Regions from separate parts of the Homo sapiens genome. Here region 2 is linked to region 1. Evidence: promoter capture Hi-C in human tissues and cell types (Jung and others, 2019). All regions are on one chromosome and are shown on one strand. The core of a region is centred on a gene start or on the middle of the fragment in contact, and the rest is flanking DNA. Distances in the headings are between cores, read along the strand shown. Region 1 holds the start of C15orf62 (chromosome 15 open reading frame 62). Region 2 overlaps RAD51 (RAD51 recombinase).

The links. The method cuts DNA at HindIII sites, captures the fragments that hold promoters and counts their contacts. A contact is called where the count stands out against the background at its distance.
Region 2: a fragment that was not itself captured here is called in contact with the fragment with the promoter of C15orf62 in region 1 in 2 of the 25 tissues and cell types used here (lymphoblastoid cells and spleen).

The regions. Positions count from the first base shown.
Region 1 is chr15:40,767,042-40,772,040 of GRCh38, reverse strand. C15orf62 (chromosome 15 open reading frame 62) reads right to left here and starts at 2,061. Exons shown (of 1, transcript NM_001130448.3): 1 at 1-2,061. The coding sequence starts at 1,545. The coding sequence ends at 1,018. It overlaps DNAJC17 (DnaJ heat shock protein family (Hsp40) member C17), which reads left to right. Exons shown (of 11, transcript NM_018163.3): 11 at 3,979-4,999. The coding sequence ends at 4,101. GCHFR (GTP cyclohydrolase I feedback regulator) reads right to left here. Exons shown (of 3, transcript NM_005258.3): 3 at 4,333-4,815. The coding sequence ends at 4,692. RefSeq lists enhancers at 928-1,544, 1,502-1,591, 1,545-2,163, 2,782-3,400. The HindIII fragment of the contact is 9,899 bases long and covers 1-4,999 here.
Region 2 is chr15:40,709,322-40,714,320 of GRCh38, reverse strand. The region is part of intron 5 of RAD51 (RAD51 recombinase); the gene reads right to left. Among named protein-coding and RNA genes, the nearest start is that of RAD51, 17 kb to the right of the region's middle. The HindIII fragment of the contact is 9,054 bases long and covers 1-4,999 here.

The DNA of each region.
Region 1 (4,999 bases), core at 812-3,311:
GGGCTCCCATCACTAGTAATTCTGGGAATTCCCCAAAGTACCCCTTTGCAAGCCGTGCGCGTGCCTGTGGCTGGCATTCTCTAGAGCTGCCTTCCTTCACCAGGGATTGCTCCGGGTAGCTGTGTTGGCAGACTGAGCCACGTCCTCATTTCTGCTAAGGATTTGCCTGGTCTTTTTCCTGAGTTATACTCTATCTCTACCTATCTCTTCCTATGTGGCCAGCCCCTGTATGCGCCTCCCCTTTGCTGGTGGCTCCAGGCCATGGTCTAGACAGCGCTGTCCATTAGAACTTTGTGCAGCGATGTTTACGTCCATTCTGCACTGACCAGTGTGGTAGCCATTAATCATGTGTGGCCACCGGGCATTTGGAATGTGGAATCTGGAATAACGGTGCAGCTGAGGAACTGAACTGTTAATTTTATTTATTTCAATTCAGTGTCATGCAGTGAGTGGCCACCAGATTAGACAGGGTCAGGCCTTCTCCCCTTTCTTCCTGGGCCTTCCCACTTTCCTCTTCTGCCTGGGTTGGACTGCCTTTACCCAAGCTTGTCCTGTGACCTCTCTCTGTTGACAGTGGCTTCCAAAGAGGCTGGCATGGGGCACTCATCTCTTCTGCTCAGTCTGTGTCCTCCCACTCCCTGATCTGACCCCGTGCCACCTTCTGGCTCTGCCAGCCTCTACCTGGTTCCTGTAGTGCCGCACAGAGCCTCCCTTTCCCGGCACAGCCTCCCTTTCCCGGCATAGCCAGCTTTCTTCAGGGTCCTGCCAGGAAGGGCCGCCCCCCCAACATTTCCAGATTGCCTCTGTCCCTCCACTCTGGGGTGCCTGGAAGGACTGTCCAGGACCCAGAGAGCAGGCAGAGCCCTGGATTCCTATCCTGGAATCCTCCCCCAGGATGAAGAAGCTCTGCCTGCCTGAACCCTCCAGCGATGGGCCTGGAGTCCTGTCCCTGTCCTTTCCTTAATCCCCAGCCTCTGGATCTTCCAGTCACCCCGGCTTTGCCCACCCTCACCCCATTTAGAAGCTGGGCTCGCTAGGAAACTGCTCCCTTAGCATCTGCAGAACTTCCTCAAGAAGTGAAATCCCCAGGTCCACTTTGAAGGAGAGGAAGGGATCACTGAGGTCTGGGGTAGGTGTCCTCTGGAAGCAGGGAGTGTCCACAAGGCCCTTCTCTGAGTGCTGGTGGAGGGCACTCGACAGAGAGAGCGCCGATGGCAGGGTGGCAGAGTAGGCTGCTGTGTAGGCAGGTGGGGGCTCCAGGATGTTGGGGCAGCTTGAGCTCTCTCGGTAGAGGCGTGGGGGCTTGGGTGGGGCCAGCAGGGTGGCCCGGGGCTGCTCGTCCCCCCACAGTGGCAGGCGCCGGCCATCTGGCCTCCCTTGTAGCTCCCGGATGACTTCTCGGTTGCTGTACTCCTCGTGGTCCCCACCTGCTGTGCTGGCCTGGCTAAGCACACTACTCTGTCGCCGGAGCCGCCGTGGCCGCCCCAGGCTCAGCTGCTTGAAGAAGGAGGCGTTGCGGAAGGAGCCTTTCCGCCAGGTCTCCATGGGGCCCAGGGGAGCCAGCAGACAGGTGTTCAGGAGCAGCCAGGGTGCATGTGGTCCCTGCTGGGGCAGTGAGTGCCAGCAGCTGGGGAGGCTCCCCTAGGAGCAGAGGCCTCAGGGTTTCCACTCAGCACAGACCTTTGACCACATCTTGGATGGTGAGAGGAGGGCTCAGGAAGAAGGAACTTTTTTGCCCAGGAGAGCAGACAGCTGGGAGTTCCTGGCAGCAAGAGTTTCCCACAGGGACAGGAGTGGCCTGGTTACTGAATAGGGTAGTGGAAAAAAACCCAGGAGGAAGAAGCAGCACTTACTGGAGCCAGAATGAGGGCAGCTCCGGCGGAGGCAGAGGTGGACCTTCTCGGGCTGGGTGAGGCTGGCGAGCGCTCCTTCCACAGGCAGGCAGCAGATGGCCCGAGCTCACTCGCCCTGGTGTTTGCCTGGCTCCTATATGTCTCTGGGGCAGTGTGGGGCCGTGCCCTCTCTGCCAGTGGCTCCCGGACTCTGATGAGTGGCCTGGCTGTTTGTGGCGGTGGAGATGTGTTTTTGTTCTCAGCTGACTCAGTCAGGTGGGAAGCCAGGTTTCGTGCTCTTGGGTAATTGCAGCATCCGCGTGCAGGGATGGGGCAGCTGGGACCAACACCCCAGGGCAATGGGGAGCTTAAGATTCCTCTGGGGACTCGTGTGGGGGCAGCCCTGCTTTATGTGTCACCACGCGGCTTCCTTTCTGATCACAGCCCCACCACCCTGGGCCCCCAGCAGGTGCGCCTGGCTCCCTGCCCACAGTGTCTGGGTAGGAAGAGTTCGGGGCGGGTGGGAGTTAATTGAAAGGCAGGCGTGTGGAACGATTGTTGGGGAAGGAAGAGACCTGTAGCTGGTATGGGTGACTCAGCCCCGCTGTCAGGCCCTCACGAGCAGGAACAGGAAGGGGGGCAGAGGGTGTGTTAATGGGGAGCAGCGCCATGCCTGTGATGGGCGGGCTCTGCTGCCCAGGGTTGGGCTGGGGGCCCGCCAAGGGTGGCTCCAAGTTTTCTTGGCAGAGCAGCATTAACCTGGGGATGGGAGATGTGGCCTCCTCTTGGCCTGCCATCAGCCTGGCTGCTATTTCCTTGTCCTCCCTTGTTTTACCCTAGAGGGCTCCTGCCAGGAGAGCGGCTGCTGAAGGCCGGGCCGTGTTGCCTCCTACCTGGCTGTGCTCCAGCCCTTCCCCTCTGGCTACCGGGCTTCCTCTGGGGTCCTCCTTCTCTTGCAGGAGGCTGGGCCAGGGAGGCTGCCGTGAATTGTCAGCCGTGCTCTGGGCCAGGCTTAGCAGTCCGGCCTAGCTGGGACTGCTGCAGCCGGGGAGAGGGGAGGGGTGCAGCCATCGGGAGGAACAGGGGAACCCAGGCTGAGTAACACTTCCTGTTTCTCTACACCCCTTACTCCAAACCTGCTGGCCAGGGCCTGGCATCTCAACCCTAGCTGCTCCCTTCCTATTCCCCGGGTCACTGACCACCACATTTTCCTCCTGCCTTGCTCTGTGACAGCGTCCCCATGCGGGGTACCGCGGATCAGGGCCCCACAGCTCTCTGCTACGGGCAGGCCACCGCATCTTGCAATCCCTGGCCTAGCTCACTTCTGTGCCAACTCAGGTGTGCTTCACACTTCTCTGAGAAGCTGTTGGGACCACATGATCATCACACAGCCTAAGCGGCACCGAGGGAGGAAAAGGTTTAATTCCCACCGCAGACCTTATCAGGGCGTGGGTTGGCAGCTTAGGTCCCGCTGTAGAGCTGCTTCTCCACCCTACAGCCTTGGCCCATTCAGATGGTTGTTTATTATTCTTTTGATTATGGGCCCTGCCCTCCAGGAGCCCTGGTGTGTAGTTTTAGAGGCACGCTGGCCTCATGCTTGCCTTTTTCCCCTTCGAGGGTGGGGCATTCCGGGCTGCCTCGGGTAGGGCTCCCTTCTGCATCCTCAGCAAGAGCCAGACCACAGGGCACCGGGCATAGAGAGTGCCAGGGTCAGTGCCCAGCAGAGCCAAGTGCATCCCTGCTCCTCAGACAACTTCCCTTCCTTGGGAACCTAAGAGGCAGAAGCTACGGGGTAGAGGGAAAGGGGTGAAGGGTAAAGGGCCCAGAGGAAATGAAGGGAGACGAGGGCCTGGCTTAGAGGGCCCGCAGGTGATTCCTGAGAAACAGATGGACCGGAGCTGACGCGGCCTGGGGAAAGGGAGGGGGAGCTGGCTGGGTAGAAGCCGGCCTGGAGGCCAAAGGTGGCGTGTTCTGGGGGACACAGGCGAGCCAGGATTCCAAAAGGATGCTCCGGGTTCCTTCCCTTCCTCTGCCGTCCTCCCTCCGAGACTCTTAGAACGCAGCACTGCCTCGGCACCGTACTCGGAGTCTGTGAGGCTGTGCCCTGCTGTCCCTGACCCCTCCCTGTCCCTGCCCTGTCCGACAGGGCTCAGTGCTGTCAGAGAGGGACTACGAGAGCCTCGTCATGATGCGCATGCGCCAGGCGGCCGAGCGGCAACAGCTGATCGCACGGATGCAGCAGGAAGACCAGGAGGGGCCGCCTACGTAGCCCCAGCTCCAGCCATCCACCCCTCAGCCCTTTTCTTCAACGTCACCAATAAATTTTTTTTTTTTTTAAGATTTTACCTCTATCCCATACATAGGTATAAGGTGCTGGGCTCTGCCGCAGAGCGCTCCACCCAGGCCTGGCGCCCCTCCCAGGAAGTGGGCAGACCCCCAGGGAAACGCTCCGCAGGGTGAGAGTCCCAGAGTCCGTGCACAAGCAGAGCACAGGCGCAGCCACTCATCACAGCCCTTTATTGGCTTGGGCTAGCTATGCAGGAGCCACGCGCCAGGGCCGCTGGAGTGCCCAGCTCCGGCCCGGGGCAGCTGCCCGAGGAACATGGCCTACACAAGGCCCTCGGCCCAGGCCCGAAGCAGGAGGGCAGCTGGGAGCACCAGGGCACCGGGCACTGCCCTCTCCCACTGCTTGACGCAGGGTTTCAGAGAAGGCCATTCACTGCCCTTTGGGGCTGGGCCCATGGCGGTGATGATTTGGGAAGAGAGGAGCAAGGCAGACGGTGAGGCAGGAGCTTGGAGGTCAGGGCCCACAGCAGCCCCTCCACAGGGGTGCCCCGTCTGCAAATCAGCATGAGAAGGTCACTCCTTGTGCAGACACCACACCAGCGTCTGGCCCACCCCCGTCATGCTCAGCACACGGAAGCCCCTGCGTTCCAGCTTGTCCAGGACTATGCGGGGAGGGTCATCGACGTAGTATTCATAACTGCAAAGAGACAGGATGGGGGGGGTGAGGAGGGGCACACAGCAAGCTCCTGGTACAAAGCTAGTGTCTGCAGCAGGCAGCCTGGCCACTCTTGTAGTGACTCACACTTGCTGGCTGCTTGCTGGGCGCTGGGGTAAGTGCACGCCCCCTGCCTCCTCCCCTTCTAGGTACTTCACGAGCTATC
Region 2 (4,999 bases), core at 639-3,138, 58 kb after region 1:
GTAAGAGTGACATTTTAAACAGCCCTAATTCCCTTTAGCTATCAAATTTCTAATGGAGCTCACGCAATAGCTATAGCTTCTATAACTTACTCTTCCTCTTCTCAATGTTTCCTCCCTTATTATCATAAAAGGTCTCCTAAGCATCCTCCTCCACCCCTCCCCCTCAGCTCTTTCTTCCTAATGATTATGAGGATCTGGGTGCAGAGGCATTCACCTGTAATCCCAGCTATGTGGGAGGCTGAGGTTGGAGGATTGCTTGCGCTCAGGAGTTCAAGAACAGCCGGTGCAACATAGTGAGACCCAATCTCAAAAAAAAAAAAAAAAAAGAATTTATTTCTGAGGAGAGTTAACAATGGATTAGGTCTACTCGATACTGACATGCTAGCTTGGCTGTCTCATAAGACATATGGCAGCCAGCCAGGCACGGTGGCTCACACCTGTAATCCCAGCATTTTGAGAGACCAAGGTGGGCGGATCACAAGGTCAGGAGATCGAGACCATCCTGGCTAATACGGTGAAAACCTGTCTCTACTAAAAATACAAAAAATTAGCCAGGCGTGGTGGCGGGCGCCTGTAGTCCCAGCTACTCGGGAGGCTGAGGCAGGAAAATGGCGTGAACCCAGGAGGCGGAGCTTGCAGTGAGCAGAGATGGCACCACTGCACTCCAGCCCAGGCGACAGAATGAGACTCCGCCTCAAAAAAAAAAAAAAAAATTGTAACATTTTGGTCTGCAAAGAAAATATCAGTGGAGCAATAAACAATTAAAATGACAACAAAAAGCCGGGCATGGTGGCTCACACCTGTAATCCCAGCACTTTGGGAGGCTGAGGCGGGTGGATCACCTGAGGTCAGGAGTTCAAGACCAGCCTGGCCAACACAGCAAGACCTTGTCTCTACTAAAAATACAAAAAATTAGCTGTGTTGGGTGGCAGGCACCTGTAATCCCAGTTTGGGAGGCTGAGGCTGGAGAACTGCTTGAACCCAGGAGATGGAGGTTGCAGTGAGCCAAGATTGCGCCACTGCACTCCTGCCTAGGCGACAGAGACTCCGTCTCAAATAAAAAAAAAAAAAAAAAGGAAAATAAGAAAAATGGGAGGCTATCAAGCTAGGTTACTTGATGTTAAATTTAAATAAACTTGGGCCAGGCACGGTGGCTCACTCCTGTAATCCCAGCACTTTGGGAGGCCAAGGCGGGCAGATTAACTTGAGGTCAGGAGTTTGAGACCAGCCTGGCCAACATGGTGAAACCTCGTCTCTACTAAAAATACAAAAATTAGCTGGACGTGGTGGCCGTCATGCCTGTAATCCCAGCTATTCGGGAGGCTGAGGCAGGAGAATGGCTTGAACCTGGGAGGCAGAGGTTGCAGCAAGCCAAGATCACACCACTGCACTACAGCCTGGGCAACAGAGCAAGACTCTTTCTCAAAAAAAAAAAAAAAAAAAGAAAAGAAAAGAAAAAAAAACTCAACAGAGTTGAGTCCCGAGGATAGAAAAACACTAGGAAGCCTCTTCTGTAACACTGATATAAGGCAGATTTTGTTTCAGTTGTTTTGATCTCCAACAGTAAGTTGTGCCCATGGCAGAAGTGGGTATAATCTATCTAGATTAAAATAATGCCATGTTTTTCAAAATAACTAAAATTATAATAAAGCTTCAAAAGATTATAACAGAAGAGTTGGTCCATGGGCATGGGCCAGGTTCAAGGATACTTTGTGGACTGGCCACTTATGCAGCACATCCTTAAAGCCAGAGAACATTAAGACTCACTTAGACAAGGAAAAACGGCTCCCCATTACACTGCCTGAAGTTGCAGAAAAGATGAAAGTTTGTTAGCTTTCTCTTCTATATCCTACTCCCTTCCTTTCTCATGGATCTTTCGTTTCCAGATTCCATTTTTACTTCTCTGTGTGACTTAGTTCCACATCTCTCAATACAGCTAGAAATTTTCACTCGGGGTTTGTCACCTCAAACCTGTCATCTCTAAACCTGTACTCATGTTTCCAACAAAACTGTCTTCCCCTCTCAAACACTTTTTAGGTTTACTAAGTTACTGTAATACATTGTTGGGCTGAGGTGTATTTTTTATTGTCAGTCATCAAGCGCTGCCCTTTACAACATCTTTTCCCTACTTCTCTTTATTGTCACTATCTTAGTTTCCTGACCAGCTAATGCTTACTCTTCATAAAATCAAGTTTAAACTTCTTAACCTTCTGAAATAGGATCTTAATTTTTTTTTTTTTTTTGAGATGGAGACAAAATCTTGCTCTGTTGCCCAGGCTGGAGAGCAGTGGTACAATCTTGGCTCATGGCAACCTTGGCCTCCTGGGCTCAAGCGATTCTCCCGCCTCCACCTCCCAAGTAGCTGCCACTACAGGCACAGCCCACGTCTGGCTAATTTTTATATTATTTGTAGAGATAGGGTCTTGCCATGTTGCCCAGGCTGGTCTCAAACTCCTGAGCTCAAGCGATCCACCCACCGTGGCCTCCCAAAGTGCTGGGATTACAGGTGTGAGCTATCATGCCCAGTTTGATGTATCTTTTTAAGGGTCATCTCCTACAACTTTTCTACACAAACTCTAAACCAGTTAAATGACCTTGCTTATTTATTGTCTTTTCCTTCTAACTTATGCCTTCCCATCCTCTGTTCATCCCATTCTATACAGTTAAATGCTTTTAATTTCCTTCCTTCCCAAATTTAGCATTCTTCAGAAGTCTGGTCCAAAATCTTTTCTCCATAAAGTATTCCATGATCACTCTAGGGTGAAATTACCCCTTTCTATTCCTTAAACAGCTAACCCATTTCCTCTGTGACATTCATTTTATATATCAGGCATGTTTTTGGACATCTATTATCTCCACTCATTCAAGCATTTATTGTTTACTGAGAGCCAAACACTGCCTTAGGCACTAGCAATACAGCAGAAAACATGCAGTGGCACGATCCCAGTCACTGGAGCCTCGACCTCTTGGGCTCAAGAGATTCTACCACCTCAGCCTCCTGAGTAGCTAGGACCACAGGTACACATCATCATGCTGGGCTAATATTTTTAATTGTCTGTTTTTGTTTGTTTGTTTTTAGAAATGGCATCTCAGAAACAGGGTCTCACTATGTTGCCCAGGCTGGTCTCAAATTCCTGGTCTCAAGCAATCCTCCCACTTTGGCTTCCCAAAGTACTGGGATTACAGGCATGAAACACCATGCTGGCCTCTTATGAAGTTTTAAGAACATCATCTCTGAAGTCTGGTTTGAGTCCAGTATTTGCTACTTAAATACAATGTATTGGGCAATTATTTAACCTACTGTGTCTATTTCCAAATCTTCCCACCAATAGGAGCATAAGTAAAGGAAAAAGAAACTGAAGGGGTCCAGGGAAGGTTTTTTCCTAATGGAGGAGACACTAGACATATTTGTATACTGATGAGGATAATCTCATAGAGAGGTACAAGAGAAAATGGAAGGAGTAGAGTCCTTGAGAAGGTGGCAGGAGATGGTAACCAAATCATATTGATAGAATGGGCCTTTGAGAAGAAAAGGGACACTTTCTCAATTGTAACCTGAGATAAGAAAAGATGGGCACAAATGTAGATTTGATGCAAAGAGCAGGTTAGGTTTTTGGCTAAGAATGAGAGTTGAAGAGGAGCATAAAGTTCTGATAACAGAAGACGAAGTATGAGATATGAGATGCCTGTCTAACTCAGTGGGAAAGTACACCTAAATGGAGAAAGTAGACTGCCAAGAAGTTTTGAATGTTAATCTAAAGTTTTGTCATCTTGAATTTTTTTCCTTTTTTCATTCTTTTTTTTTTTTTTTTTTTTTTTGAGACAGAGTCTCGCTTCTTTGACCAGGCTGGAATGCAATGGTGCGATCTCAGCTCCCTGCAACCTCTGCCCCCCGGGTTCAAGCGATTCTCCTGCCTCAGTCTCCCAAGTAACTGGGATTACAGGCACGTGCCAACACGCCCAGCTAATTTTTGTATTTTTAGTAGAGACAGGGTTTCACCATGTTGGCCAGGCTGGTCTTGAACTCCTGATCTTTTTTTTTTCTTCTTCTTTTTTTTTTTTTTTTTTTTTTTTTTTTTGAGACAGAGTCTCGCTCTGTCGCCCAGGCTGGAGTGCAGTGGCGCAATCTCGGCTCACTGCAAGCTGTGCCTCCCGGGTTCACGCCATTCTCCTGCCTCAGCCTCCCAAGTAGCTGGGACTACAGGCACCCGCCACCACGCCCAACTAATTTTTTGTATTTTTAGTAGAGATGGGGTTTCACTGTGTTAGCCAGGATGGTCTCAATCTCCTGACCTTGTGATCCGCCCACCTCGGCCTCCCAAAGTGCTGGGATTACAGGCGTGAGTCACCGCGCCCAGCCAAACTCTTGATCTCAAGTGATCCACCCGCCTCGGCCTCCCAAAGTACTGGGATTACAGGCGTGAGCCACCGTGCCTGGCCTGTCATCTTGAATTTAAAGTGAAGTCAGTCAGCTGTATGATACGATTTTTCTCCAGTATAATCAGCTATTTGGGTACAGACACTGAGAAGATAGATGAGTTTCATCTAAGGTTGGCATCTCTTCAAGTGGGTATGTAAACTGAGGCTATCTGCAAGAGAATTACTTTAATGATGAATCATAAAATCTAGACTAATGAAGAAGATGGAGGGCTGGGCGCAGTGGCTTACGCCTATAATTCCAGCACTTGGGAGGCCAAGGTGGGTGGATCACTTGAGATCAGGAGTTCAAGAGGAGCCTGGCCAACATGGTGAAACCCCCTCTCTACTAAAAACACAAAAATTAGCCGGGCATGCTGGTGGGCGCCTGTAATCCCAGGTACTCGGGAGGTTGATGAAGGAGAATCACTTGAACCAGAGAGGAGGTTGCAGTGAGCTGAGATCACACCACTGTACTTCAGCCTGGGCGACACAGCGAGATTCTGCCTCAAAAAAAAAAAAAAAAAAAAAAAGTAGCAAGTAAAGCCAGGAAAAGGCCTGGTAGCAAAAGTATTTGAAATTA